Regions from separate parts of the Homo sapiens genome. Here region 2 is linked to region 1. The links are contacts of gene promoters, found by promoter capture Hi-C in blood cells and fetal thymus (Javierre and others, 2016). All regions are on one chromosome and are shown on one strand. Each heading gives the region's core, a stretch centred on a gene start or on the middle of the fragment in contact. The rest is flanking DNA. Distances are from core to core; before and after follow the strand shown.

The links. Contacts are between HindIII fragments. The CHiCAGO score rates a contact against its expected background, and 5 or more counts as called.
Region 2: a contact is called between a fragment that was not itself captured here and the fragment with the promoter of CCDC28B in region 1, in 13 of 17 cell types (endothelial precursors, total B cells, megakaryocytes and 10 more). The highest score is 14.9, in endothelial precursors.

The regions. Positions count from the first base shown.
Region 1 is chr1:32,195,477-32,202,063 of GRCh38, forward strand. CCDC28B (coiled-coil domain containing 28B) reads left to right here and starts at 5,119. Exons shown (of 6, transcript NM_024296.5): 1 at 5,119-5,233; 2 at 6,437-6,587. The coding sequence starts at 6,460. It overlaps TXLNA (taxilin alpha), which reads left to right. Exons shown (of 11, transcript NM_175852.4): 11 at 1-2,809. RefSeq lists enhancers at 3,778-4,336, 4,337-4,894, 5,107-5,186, 5,445-5,964, 5,877-6,096 and 2 more. The HindIII fragment of the contact is 8,664 bases long and covers 737-6,587 here.
Region 2 is chr1:32,316,133-32,323,158 of GRCh38, forward strand. HDAC1 (histone deacetylase 1) reads left to right here. Exons shown (of 14, transcript NM_004964.3): 3 at 533-650. Among named protein-coding and RNA genes, the nearest start is that of MARCKSL1, 17 kb to the right of the region's middle. The HindIII fragment of the contact is 225 bases long and covers 1,544-1,768 here.

The DNA.
Region 1 (6,587 bases), core at 3,869-6,368:
CTTGAGAGGGGCTGTCATCTGTAGCTGCCATCACAGTGAGTTGGCAGAAGTGACTTGAGCATTTCTCTGTCTGATTTGAGGCTCAGACCCCTCCCTGCCCTTCAGAGCTCAAGACAAGTAATACACCCAGGTCTTGACTGCATTTGTCTTGTGAGCAGGGCTTGCTTGGTCAGCTCAGGCCCTCCTAGCTGCTCTGGAGGCTCCTTTGATTCTCTAGACCTGGAAAAGGTGTCCCTAGGCAGAGCCCTGGCAGGGCGCTCAGAGCTGGGGATTTCCTGCCTGGAACAAGGGACCTGGAGAATGTTTTTGCGTGGGATGATGTGCTGGTCAGGAGCCCCTTGGGCATCGCTTCCCCTGCCCTTTGGTAGTGCCAGGACCAGGCCAATGATGCTTCTCAGTAGCCTTATCATTCACAGGTGCCTCTCTAGCCTGCACAAATGATTGACAAGAGATCACCCAAAGGATTATTTCTGAAGGTGTTTTTTTCTTTATTTCTTTTTCTTTTTTTTTTTTTTTCTTTTTCTTTTTTTTTTGCACATGACAGTGTTTGTATTGAGGACCTTCCAAGGAAGAGGGATGCTGTAGCAGTGGTGCCTGGGTGCCTGGCCTCCAGTGTCCCACCTCCTTCACCACCCCACTTGGCTCCTTTGCCATCTTGATGCTGAGGTTTCCTGTTTGGTGAGATCAGGTTGTTTGTGGTAAAAGAAAGGAAAGGGCTTCTGATGGCTTTGCCACAAGCTTACCTGTGGGTTTCAGTCCTGAGAGGCCACCACCAGTTCCCATCAGCACTGTCTCCATGCAGCAGTTGCTGGGTCCCATGTCCAGCTGCCTCTTTGGCTTCATGGGTTTTTCTGCTTCCTGCCCCCACCCCCACATGTGCAATCCTCAAGATTTGTCCTGATTCTATTTCCTGGCACCTCCCTGCCTGTCCTTGGGGATTCTACTTCTTCCTGTGTGGGAGCCCATAGCTGTTGTCTAACAGGTAAGAAATGAAATTGAACTATTGACTGGGCCCCAGAAATCCATAAAATGGCTGCAGACAGTTGTTTCTGTGTCCTGTTCTACCCCCACTCCAGTACATAACTACTATGTACTGTGTAGAGCCATTCTATATGCTGAATGTTCTGCTGTTGCAAACTTGCCAGGGTATTAGCCAGTGTTTGTGCCAAGCAGTTTTCTGGGACAACAGAATGACTCAGACCAAGATGGATAGGATGGTTAGGGCTTTGCTTCTTGCTGTTTTTCTTTGAAGCTAGTTCATTGTCCTGCAGGTCCCTTCATCTTCCATACCTAGCCCACTCTTTTAGCCCTTACCTTAAATCTCTCAGATAAGTTGGTTCACAAAGAATGTTAAGTACTGAATCATGTGTGACTGAGACCAGAGATGGCAAATGAATGGCACACCATTTCTCCTTCTCCTGCCCCAGGGCAGGTACCACTGATCTGCATCAGAGTTGCCTGCTATTCTCTGGTGTATCCTTCACATCTAGGTGCCCTCAAGCAGCTGTGTGAGTGTTGAGATCTCTGCCATCTCTGGCTGAGATACTGCTGTCCTGTGAAGTGTTTCCCATGACCTTTTTCTTCCCCTTTGAATCCCTCTGTCTGGAGTAGTCCTTGCCTCTTCCTGCTCCAGTAGGGCCTTTTCCCTACCCCAGCCCCTGTGCCAGGCTAAGCTGGTACAAGAGCTGCCAACCTCACAGAGTGTTTGCTAGGCGAGAGAGGTGCAGGGAAGAGGCAGAGGTATGCACCTTCCCCCTTGAAGAGAGGGGAAAGGCCTACAGTGGCCCACATAATTGCCTGACTCACACTTCAGCTACCTCTTAATGCCTGTGGAGGGACTGGAGCTGCTGGATCCCAGTGTGGTGGTGTAGGAGGCCACAGTGAGCAGGTGGCCCCAGCTGGGTTTCCCAGGTCAGGAATGTGGGCCCCAGGCAAGGTGCAGCCTTTGCTCACAGCTCCATCCATGTCTAGACCTTCAGGCCAGTCTGCAGATGAGGTTCCCTACCTTTTTCTTCTCTTCATTGACCAAATCAACCAATCACTACAGCTGCTCTGCTTCTGCTTTCCAAAGTAGCCCAGGTCCTGGGCCAGATGCAGGGGAGGTGCCTATCCATGAGTGAAGGCCAGTGTCTTCCTCACCTGGGTGGGTCCCACACTTGTGACCTCAGTTTTAGGACCAAGATCTGTGTTGGTTTCTTAGATTGCTAGCTTTTCCTCCAGGGGACCACAGCAGGTGAAGCTCAAGAGCGCATGGCTCTGCTAATAGTAAATTGTTTTCAGGGCCTTGTCCAGCTGAGAGCTTCATGTCCACCAGATTCTGAGAGGTGTCAGCAGCACTTTTTTTTTTTATTTGTTGTTTGTTTTCCATGAGGTTATCGGACCATGGGCTGAGCTCAGGCACTTTCTGTAGGAGACTGTTATTTCTGTAAAGATGGTTATTTAACCCTCCTCCACCCCATCACGGTGGCCCTGAGGGCTGACCCGGAGGCCAGTGGAGCTGCCTGGTGTCCACGGGGGAGGGCCAAGGCCTGCTGAGCTGATTCTCCAGCTGCTGCCCCAGCCTTTCCGCCTTGCACAGCACAGAGGTGGTCACCCCAGGGACAGCCAGGCACCTGCTCCTCTTGCCCTTCCTGGGGGAAGGGAGCTGCCTTCTGTCCCTGTAACTGCTTTCCTTATGGCCCAGCCCGGCCACTCAGACTTGTTTGAAGCTGCACTGGCAGCTTTTTTGTCTCCTTTGGGTATTCACAACAGCCAGGGACTTGATTTTGATGTATTTTAAACCACATTAAATAAAGAGTCTGTTGCCTTACTTGTTTCTCTCCTGACCTGTGTATTCCTTTGTTTCTGGATCTGATCCATTCAGCCCCTTCCATCATCACTGACTTGTTCAGGTCTGCTGCAGAGCGCCCATGGTGGTTCCCTGGTATCTTACATATTCCACAGTGTCTTTGAGCAGTCGCCACAGCCTCAGGATGCTGGCATATTCACTTGAGCTGCCTGAGTGGAGCCCTTGGCAAAGTTGGCAAGACCCTTGCCTCAGAGAGGATCACACACACACAAAAAAGTTTTCCCTGACCTGGGGGCTCACAGGCTAGTGAAGGGAAAAGGTACTTTTAGCTATAGACAGGTCAATGGTGCTGAGAGCAGAGAGGAGGCCCCTGCCCCCTTCAGCAAGGTGAGGGGGTGATACCTGGAATGGCCTTCTGAACCACAGGGCAGGTAGAAGATGAACGTCATTTAGTGATTAAATGGTACAGCTGGGAAGCAGGTCCATGGGACTGGGAGAGGGGGTGAGGCTGGGCCCAGAGTCTGGGTACCAGGTTAAGGAATGTGGGCTAGATCCAGAGGGCAGGGGGGGCAACTGAAGGTGTTTCAATAGGAAATTGATAGGCTCCAGCAGTAAGGCAAAAGGCATGGAGCCAGGCATAGGCCATTTGAGGCCCAGGTTAAGAGGGGTGGACACTCATCACTGCTATTTGGGTCTGAGCTGTGGGTAGGCTCCTATAGCCCTGGCCTGCCCAAGGGAATTCACAGGGGCCTCTAATTGTATGCATTCCTTAAGGAGAGCACATTCTCTGTTCAGTTTTTACACCCCCCATTTACCCACCTCAAGCATGGGACTCCTATATGGGAGACATGCTGCTGGTGGCCTCACCCAGCACCCTGTTCTCTCTGGGTCCTGGGTTGGTCAGGCACAAAGGATGATATGTGCTGAATGCCCAGGAAATGGCAGAGACAACCCACCTGCCCTTCCCTCCAGGCCTCCACAAATAGATGTGCCCACAATGACTGTGACAGTCCCAGCAGAGCCTCTGACCCTTCTAGCTGGGTCCTGATACATGTTTTCCATGCTGGCCATGTTATTTCTAGTCGCAGATCCTCTGGAGGGTGTGGGGGGGGTGCCGCCCCAACTCTTGGAGATTCCAAGCAAAGCAGCTCTGAGAATAATGAGGTTTCTGACCCCCCAGTGAAGCAGCTGAGGATGGGAACCACAGGGGTGCTCCCTCTGTCAGCAGCATTACCACTGTCTACTCTAGCAGCTCCGGTGGGGAAGGAGAGGGATTTCTGTTGTCCCCAGTCTGGGCCCCTGGTTATTGAAAAAGTTCGGAATTACTCTTTACCCTTGTGGAGTGTTCTGAGTGTTGGAAGTACCCAGGAAGAAGCCCTGAGCAGGTGCCCTCAGGAGCAGTGCCCATGGCTCCCCACATCAGCCAAGAGGCCCAACCCCAGGAAGCCACTCCTGCCCGGGGATGGGGAAGGTGGGCTGGGTGGCTGTGTGCACTGCCCTGGGCCAGCTCACTTGAGCCTGCTGAGCCGCCTGGCCAAACATGAGCCTCTCTCCTGTTGTATCAGATGCTGTTCTGGGGACCTGCGCCAGGAGCCTCTGCCAGGGCTTTAAATAGCTGCCCCCATTGATCTGGCTGCAGGCAGCAGCAGTCACACTGGGTCAGCCTCCATCAGGTGCTCAGGTTTCCCTGAGGACTGGAGTCAGGTGCCAGGGAATCGCGTGGTCTACCTTATGACCTGGTGCTCCCCACACCTGTCTCCTAGGCCTGGGGGGTGGGGAGGACTCCTGTCACTTCATCTGCGGCAAAATACAGCCCCCACCACTTACCAGAGAAAACTGTCTGGCATTGTAGAGAGAGGGGTTTTGCCCTCAAAAGACTGTTGCTTACTTTCAGTAGAATGGGGAATGACACTGGTATCTTCCTTAAGGGTTGTTATGGGGATGAAATGTATGTAAAGTGCTCAATAGGGCACTGGACTCACTCCATTGATGGCTGTCTTTGCTCGAAGTGTCTTCCTGATGCTGCTGCTGTTGCTGCTTGTGCTTCTTCTGTGCTTACATTCTCTCTCTCTCACTCACTCACTCTGTCTCTCCTCTCCCCCGCCCCACCCCCTTTCTGACAAAGCCACCACCATTTTGTAAGGAACTGTAGCTTCTCTCTGAAACTGCCGGGAAAGGGAAAATCTTTTTAAAATAGACATCACACAACCAACAGGGTCCCCTAGGTTCAGGCGGGGAGGTGAGGTCGAGTGAGAGGAACTGCTTAGCATACGCGGGGATGCTCCTCCCATCTCACCCCACCGCGCTAAGGAGAAGGTCACTTTCTCTTTAAATGCAAATGAACTCCCTCCAGCTTAGCTTTCACCCGGTGGTGTTCCCGGGAGGAGAGGGCGGAGGGCGGAGGGAACTTGCACCGAAGCATCACTCGAGACCCCAAACCTCCAGGTCAGTAGCCCCCTGAGGGAGTGAGGGCGGGGGCGGAATGACGCGGGTCTGACGCTCTGTCTTCGAGCGCGGCTGCGGAGCTGAGCGATGAGTTTGGCACATGGCTTTGGAGCCCGGGCTTGGGAAATAGATCCCCGGTCGCCCCAGCCGCTCCTGGGGAGCACAGGCTCCGGCTCCAGTTCTTCTATCAGGTCCCTAATTGGGTCAAGCTGCTGCACGGAGAGGCAGAGGATGCGCTCCTATCTCCCCTCCCCACACCCGCAGACCCCGTCAGTGGCAGCCAGCTATGTGTCAGTGTAAATGCTTAAGCGCCACCCACCCCCCCAACCCCCCCAGTCCCAGAATTCGAAGTTAGGCTCGGTAGCAGCAGCCTGGAATGAGACCCCCAGAGGAGGGAACCCCAGCCGACCGGAGGCTTGGGGGGCGCTGCTGGACCGGGGACCTCGGAGCAGCCCAGCCACAGGCGCAGCCTTTGTCGGAGGCCCAGGCAGCCAGCGGCCAACCACCCAGTCCACCCTGGCTGCAGCTGAAGCCCAGCAGGGACTTTCCGACTGGGAAAAATGAAGCAGCTGAAAGCACACCCGCGGGACCTATAGGGAGTCCCTAATATTTTCGGTTGGGGGTGGGTGGAAGTGGAGGGATGCCGGTGTCTATGTGGGGGAAACCCACAATGAACCCTGCCCTGTATGCTGCGGCTTCTCCTACAATTACCCACACGCTGGGGCTTTCCCAGGCGCCCCTACCTGCACCTTGTCCCCCTCCCATGCTGACAGGGTTTGTTAGCATCTGCTTAGGCCCCTGATAAATAGAATAGGGTTTAGTTAAGACATCCCTAATCTTCGGCTGGGCTTCTGCAGCTCACCTCCGTCTTGTCTCCCACTACATTTCCTCTGCCAGCCCCGCCCCCCAGCCACCGTGACAGGAAGCCCCAGTAGCGCCAAGATAGTTGTGACTGGTCCCACCCTTTCAGGAGGGGCCTAGGTTTTCAGGCAGAAGGGGAATTAGGTTGGGCCTTAGAAGGTCCTTCAAGTGTACATCCACGATCCCAGCAGCAGACACTGGCATCTGGCTCTGCCCCTACCGTATAGATGAGGTGACAAGCTGGAAGGTCCCAGGGCCCTTCCTTGGTGCAGCTCTCAGGGATTTCTGGGTGAAGGGCTAACTTTGCCCCTGGCTATCTTTGTGGGGTTGCTTCCCTCCTAGGCCTGAGGCCCAGCCAGCGCCCAATGGATGACAAAAAGAAGAAACGGAGTCCCAAGCCCTGCCTGGCCCAGCCAGCCCAGGCCCCAGGCACACTACGGAGGGTCCCTGTGCCTACCAGCCACAGCGGCTCCTTGGCCCTAGGACTTCCTCA
Region 2 (7,026 bases), core at 406-2,905, 120 kb after region 1:
AATTAGCCGGGCGTGGTGGTGGGCGTCTGTAGTCCCAGCTACTTGGAAGGCTGAGGCAGGAGAATGGCGTGAAGCCGGGAGGCGGAGCTTGCAGTGAGCCGAGATTGCGCCACTGCACTCTAGCCTGGGAGACAGAGCGAGACTCCGTCTCAAAAAAAAAAAGTAATAATTTTGTAAAGCACCTTACAGTTTACAAAGAGATTTAACAACCTCTTCCAATTCTCTCAACTTCCCTGTGTGGTCTATGTTGTCCCTGTTTAGTAAATGAGGAAATGGAGGTTCAAGAGACAGTAACTTGCCTAAGCAACAGAGCTTGAGCTGCTGTAGGTCTTCTGATACTCTGTCTCCTTTGATAATCTTGTTTGCCTAGTTAGATTGTAAATTTCTTGAAGCCTGAATCTAACCAGTTATTTCTTTTTATTCTTTATAGCACCTAGCTCCATGCTGCGCAGGAAATATAAATATTCAAACTAGATTGACTGGACTGGCCGTGGTCAAAAATAACTTGCCCTTTCTCCCTTCTGCCCTCTAGCGCCCTCACAAAGCCAATGCTGAGGAGATGACCAAGTACCACAGCGATGACTACATTAAATTCTTGCGCTCCATCCGTCCAGATAACATGTCGGAGTACAGCAAGCAGATGCAGAGATGTAAGTCCATTCTGTTCCCTCACACTCTGAAGCCGCCAGTTGCATCTCCCTTTCCACTGTAGAGGCCCATTCTGCCGTCCTCGCACCTCCCATTCAGTGGACACCTGATTTCCCCTACCTCCTAAAGGTGCCAGAGTGCTTTTTCCCCTCAAGTCGGATTTTTCATGTTTCCTGATTTGTAAACGATAGAGGTAGTACTTTTTCTGGTTATGTTCACAACACTGTCCCAAGAGTACTGTAATTATTGTAGTGGAAAAAGCACTGACCTGGGACGGGGAGACAATAGATACAGTAAAATTTAACTCTAACTCTCAGCTGAGTGGGCAAGTCACTTCCCCTCAGATTCTTCTTTTGTAAAGTGGGCTGGGCCACATGATCTCTGATTTCTGTCCAACTGTAACTGTTTTGACTTAGTGGGTATTAATTGAGAATTTAGAGGCCACTCAGGACAGATTCTAGATGGTGTAATCTTTGAGATGAGGTGATGCTGCCCCTGATCCCTTGGACTTGAACTTCAGAGCAGGTCCCATCTTGGAAGCCACGCTTAGTTTGTAGGAATCGTGGGAATTATTTTAGCTGTGAGGGGGAAAAAAAAAGTATTCAAATTTGGGACAAAACTATCATACCTGACTTCCCCCTTGTGTTATTTTAGAAATTATCTCTTAGCACCTAAGACTTCATATAGTATAACAGCACTGTCCAGAAGAAGTTTTGATTAACTTATGACAGCTTATATGGAAGTGTCAGAAAATATGCGGCACTTGTTTGTTGCTGCTGACCACAAGGTAGTCTTACTCCCAAGGAAGAAAGTTATTTATAACTATTATTACAACTAATAATAACTGTACAGTGGTATTGATGGCAGAACCACAGAGACCTTCCTTGAAGCATTAAGCTTCTTTGCTACCGACAACTCCAGGAGCTGCCAGCTGCTGTGAGTGAGGTGTTTGCTCTCTGAATTGCAGGGTCTTATTTCCCTCCAAGATGAGGCAAATTCATGCCTTTCCTGTAGATGGCTTTAGAGGTTTCCATAACCCATTTAGGCCAAGGATCAGGCTCTACTCTCAGCACAGTGGGCTCTCACTAGAGGAGCAACTTGCTATTAAAGTAAGAAAATAAGCTTTCATGTCTTAGTTTGAATCCTTGGTTTCCTAGCCCCTCTGGTGTTATTTCCCGCCCCTGCCACTTTTTTTTGAGACAGAGTTTCGCTCTTGTTGCCCAGGCTGGAGTGCAATGGGGCGATCTCTACTCACCACAACCTCCGTCTCCCGGCTTCAAGCGATTATCCTGCCTCAGCCTCCTGAGTAGCTGGGATTACAGGGATGTGCCACCACGCCCGGCTAATTTTGTATTTTTAGGTTTCTCCATGTTAGTCAGGCTGGTCTCAAACTCCCGACCTCAGGTGATATGCCAGCCTCGGCTTCCCCAAGTGCTGGGATTATAGGCCTGAGCCACTGTGCCCGACCTGTTTTCCCTCTTTAAGAGGAAGACAGGACAGGCACAGCGGTTCATGCCTGTAATCCTAGCACTTTGGGAGCCCAAGGTGGGAGGATTGCTTGAGCCCAGCCAGGAGTTTGAGACCAGCCTGGGCAACATAGTGAGACCCTCATCTCTACAAAAAAATAAAAAAATTAGCTGGGCATGGCGGTGCACACCTGTGGTCCCAGCTACTCAGGAGGTTGAGGAGGGAGGATCTTTTGAGCCTGGAAGGTCGAGGCTGCAGTGAGCCATGATTGTACTACTGCACTCCAGCCTGGGCAACAGAGCGAGACCAAAAAAAAAAAGACATTAGTGCCTATTTCATAGTCAAGGATGGGGGAATAAGTGAAGATAATATATTTAAATATATATAATATGTCTACCCTCAATGAATTGCTTTTGCTATTTTTGCTATTGCATAATCACTTTTGCTATTATGACTTACTATTTTTATTATTTACAAACTTATCAAGGCAGACAAAATGCTATGCCCTGAGGAGTGTGCAGGTTCTGCTCTGGTGCGCCAATTTTTCCGAATCCAGCATTCTAAAGTTGTACATTAAAAAATTCAGTCTGGCTGGGTGTGGTGGCTTACGCCTGTAATCCCAGCAGTTTGGGAGGCTGAGGCAAGCAGATCACCTGGGGTCGGGAGTTTGAGACCAGCCTGGCCAACATAGTGAAACCCCATCTCTACTAAAAATACAAAAATTAGCTTGGTTTGGTGGTACATGCCTGTAATTCCAGCTACTCAGGAGGCTGAGGCAGGAGAATTGCTTGAACCCAGGAGGCAGAGGTTGCAGTGAGCCAAGATCGCGCCACTGCACTCCAGCCTGGGCGACAGAGCGAGACTCCGTCTCAAAAAAAAAAAATTCAGTCTGGGTGCCTATAGTCTCAGCTACTTAGGAGGCTGAAGCAGGAAGATTTCTTGAGCCCAGGAGTTCAAGGCCAGTCTGGGTAATATAGTGAGACCTGGTCTCTAAAAAAAATTTTTCTAATTAAAATAATTAGGTCTTGGATTTTTCTGTCATCAGAAATGGGGGCAGGAAGAATAAGCCTCTCTAAGAACTTCAGAGTACCTCACTGAGTTGATTTGTAGGGTTATGGAGGGTCAGAGTAGACAGAGACTTTAGATGTCACTTAACACAGTGCTTTATAACCTGGGGTATCTACCAAGACAGTAATGAGCCCTTTTTAAAAAAAGAATTATTTTTATTTTTATTCTTGTTTTTAGAGATGGGGTCTTGCTTTGTCATCCAGGGTACAGTACAGTGGCAAGATCATAGCTCACTGCAGCCTCAAATTCCTTAATCCTTAACTTGCCCTTTTAGAATATGTACCAATATCTAACCTAGGCGCTGGACATGGTAGCATGCACCTGTAATGCCAGTGCTTTGAAGGGCAAGGCAGGAGGGATAGCTTGAGGCCAGGAGTTCAAGACCAGCCTGGGCAGCATAGTGAGACCCCCATCTCTTATTTTATCTTAAAAAAATAAAAATAAAAAATTAGTTGTGTATGGTGGCACATGCCTGTGATTCTGGCTACTCAGGAGCCTGAGGCAGGAGGATCCCTTGAGCCCAGTTCAGGGCTGCATTGAGGTATGGTCTCATTTCGCCACCACACTCCAGCCTGGGCAACATAGCAAGAACTCGTCTCAATAAAAAAAAAACACACATGGCCAGGCGTGGTGGCTCATGCCTGTAATCCCAGCACTTTGGGAGGCCGAGGTGGGCGGATCACGAGGTCAGTACATCGAGACACCATCCTGGCTAACACGGTGAAACCCCGTCTCCACTAAAAATTTACAAAAAATTAGCCGGACGTGGTGGCAGGCGCTTGTGGTCCCAGCTACTCGGGAGGCTGAGGCACCAGAATGGTGTGAACCCGACAGGCGGAGCTTGCAGTGAGCCGAGATCACGCCACTGTACTCCAGCTTGGGCGACAGAGCGAGACTCCTTCTCAAAAAGAAAAAAAAAAAAACCCACACACACACAAAAACATCCCACACACCTAATCTAGGAAGTTATGCTTATGATAAGATCGAGTAAATCAGGTTTCCTTGCTTGTGGCTGAAATGTAATAAACCCTTTCTGGTCACTTTGAGAGCCTTGACCAGAAGTTCTGACCTAATATTTAGCAAGTGAAAATGGGAACACAAATAAATGCATTTAGGGGGCTTTTGGTGAAAACATGATAAAAGGGATTGGTAAAAAATTGGGAGACATTCTCATCCATTTTACAGACATGTAAACTTTCCCAGTCACACAGCAAGGTGATGGTAGAATGCAGAATGGAACTCTAGTCCCCCAATTCTGTAGTTTTAAAAAATATAGTGTATATAAAATATTTTAGATACACAGGCCAGGCAGGGTAGCTCATGCCTGTAATCCCAGCACTTTGGGAGGCTGAGGCAGGTGGATCACTTGAGGCCAGGAGTTTGAGACCAGCCTGGCCAGCGTGGTGAAACCCTGTCTCCACCAAAAGTACAAAAATTAGCCATGTGTGGTGGTATATGCCTGTAATCCCAGCTACTCGGGAGGCTGAGGCATGAGAATTGTTTGAACCTGGAGGGCAGAGGTTGCAGTGAGCCAAGATCGCGCCACTGCACTCCAGCCTGGGCGACAGAGCAAGACTCCATCTCAAAAAAAAAAAAAAAAAAAAAAAACAGAAAAAGAAAAAAACATATTTTAGACACACACAAAAAGCATCAAAAAATAATATAATGCACTTTGGGAGGCCGAGGCGGGCAGATCACGAGGTCAGGAGATCAAGACCATCCTGGCTAACACAGTGAAACCCCATCTCTACTAAAAATACAAAAAATTAGCCGGGTGTGGTGGTGGGTGCCTGTAGTCCCAGCTACTTGGGAGGCTGAGGCAGGAGAATGGTGTGAACCCAGGAGGCGGAGCTTGCAGTGAGCTGACATTGCGCCACTGCACTCCAGGCTGGGCAACAGAGCAAGACTCTGTCTCAAAAAAAAAAAAATAATAATAATAATATAATGAACATCCATGTGTGCCCAATACCCAGCCTGAGAAAGAAAACATTATCAATACAGTTGATGCCCCCTTGGGCATCTTTCCTTGATCACATACCCTTTCTCTCCCACTCCCCCAGCCCCCCACCCCATTACCAGCACTGCCAAGGTATAAGCACTATCCTGAGGTTAGTGTTTAATCTTCCCATCTCTTTGCAATGAGCATTTGACTGCCTTCTCTGCCTACGTCTGCTTCCACCTCTCACCCAGTATTGCTTCCCTTTAGTCTAAAGCTAGTGTGAGAATGAGAAAAGCGTTTATAGCAGAAAGAGAGAAAACCCATGGAAAAGTCTTCCCTACCCTCACAGATTAGCTCACATGAGTATCTGCTCTTCCATTTGCCCCCTTTCCATCTCTAATCACATAGCTTATTGACTAGGAATAAAAGGGCTGGTCATTTGAGCTACATGTTGGTTTGGTGCCTGAAGAAAAATATTTTTTTTTTTCTCACGTCCAAAACACCCATTCCTTCCCATGGAGGCTCCATATCCCAAATAAGAGTATAAACAAAGCTTTGGAAACGCAGGCAGGCCAAACTCTGTGCAGGAGGAAGTGGCCAGAGAGGGAAATCAGTTGCCAATGGATAAACAGCCGGGGCCCAGGGACCAAAGTTCTTATTTACACAGCCTCCCAGTGTTTACCCAGGAAGTGAGGAAGAGACCCACCCGCTGCACACTCCCTCATGCAGCCATGCTTCTTCCTCAGAGCACCGGATCTTGGCACCCTCCAAGTTTAGTGCAGAACCAGAGCTGGTAACTCTTGTGGTTATTGTAGATCTTGAGCTTCAACTGTGTCTTGAGATTTTACCAGCACAATCCAAACTGAGCTCTTCTGCTCTCACCCCAGGGCTGCTCCTTCCTCTACTTTTGGAAATCTTGATAACAGTGGGTACAGTAGAAGGCTGGGCAAGAGAATAAGTATGCAGCCCCACACCTCCTGCCTCTGACTTCCTGTAGCTCATTGATGTCTCAGCAGTTACTTTTTTTTTTTTTTTCTCCTGAGATGGAGTCTCGCCCTGTCACCCAGGCTGGAATGCAGGGGTGCAATCTTGGCTCACTGCAACCTCCACGTTTTGGGTTCAAGTGATTCTCCTGCCTCAGCCTCCTGAGTAGCTGGGATTACAGGCACATGCCTGGCTAATTTTTGTATTTTTAGTAGAGACGGGGTTTCTCCATGTTGGCCAGGCTAGTCTTGAACTCGTGACCTCAAGTGATCCACCTGCCTTGGCCTCCCAAAGTGCTGGGATTACAGGTGTGAGCCACCGCGCCCGGCCAGTAGTTACCTTTTCTGTAAGAGGAGATTTGGAGCTATAAAGTTCCTCTAGGTCTGTGAGTCTACAGCCTCCAGGTGTGCTTTCCTTCCTGTTTTCATTTCATTTGCCTTATTGTTTGCATATGTTTCCACATTATGTACTACTTGGTACTTTTACCCCATTAGGCCCGAAATAACTTTACTCCACTTGTCACTGTGAATGTAGCAGTAAGACACTGGGCTACGGGAGTCAAGACACCGGGACCCTGATTCTGGTTCTGCTACTGCCTGGTTTTATAACCTTGGGCAAATCACTTAACTTCTCGGTATCTGTTTGTTCCTCCGCACAGTGGGGTTGATATCTGGCTTGTCCAGCTCATAGAGTTGTTGTGAGGATCAAATGAGGTTGTATATGTGAAAGGACTTGGAAAAGGGCCGGGATATATTTTCACAGGCTTTTAAGACAGACAGGCTGGCTGGGCACGGTGGCTTATGCCTGTAATCCCAGCACTTTGGGAGGCCGAGGCGGGCGGATCACAGGGTCAGGAGTTTGAGACCAGCCTGGCCAACATGGTGAAACCCCGTCTCTACTAAGAATGCGGAAATCAGCCA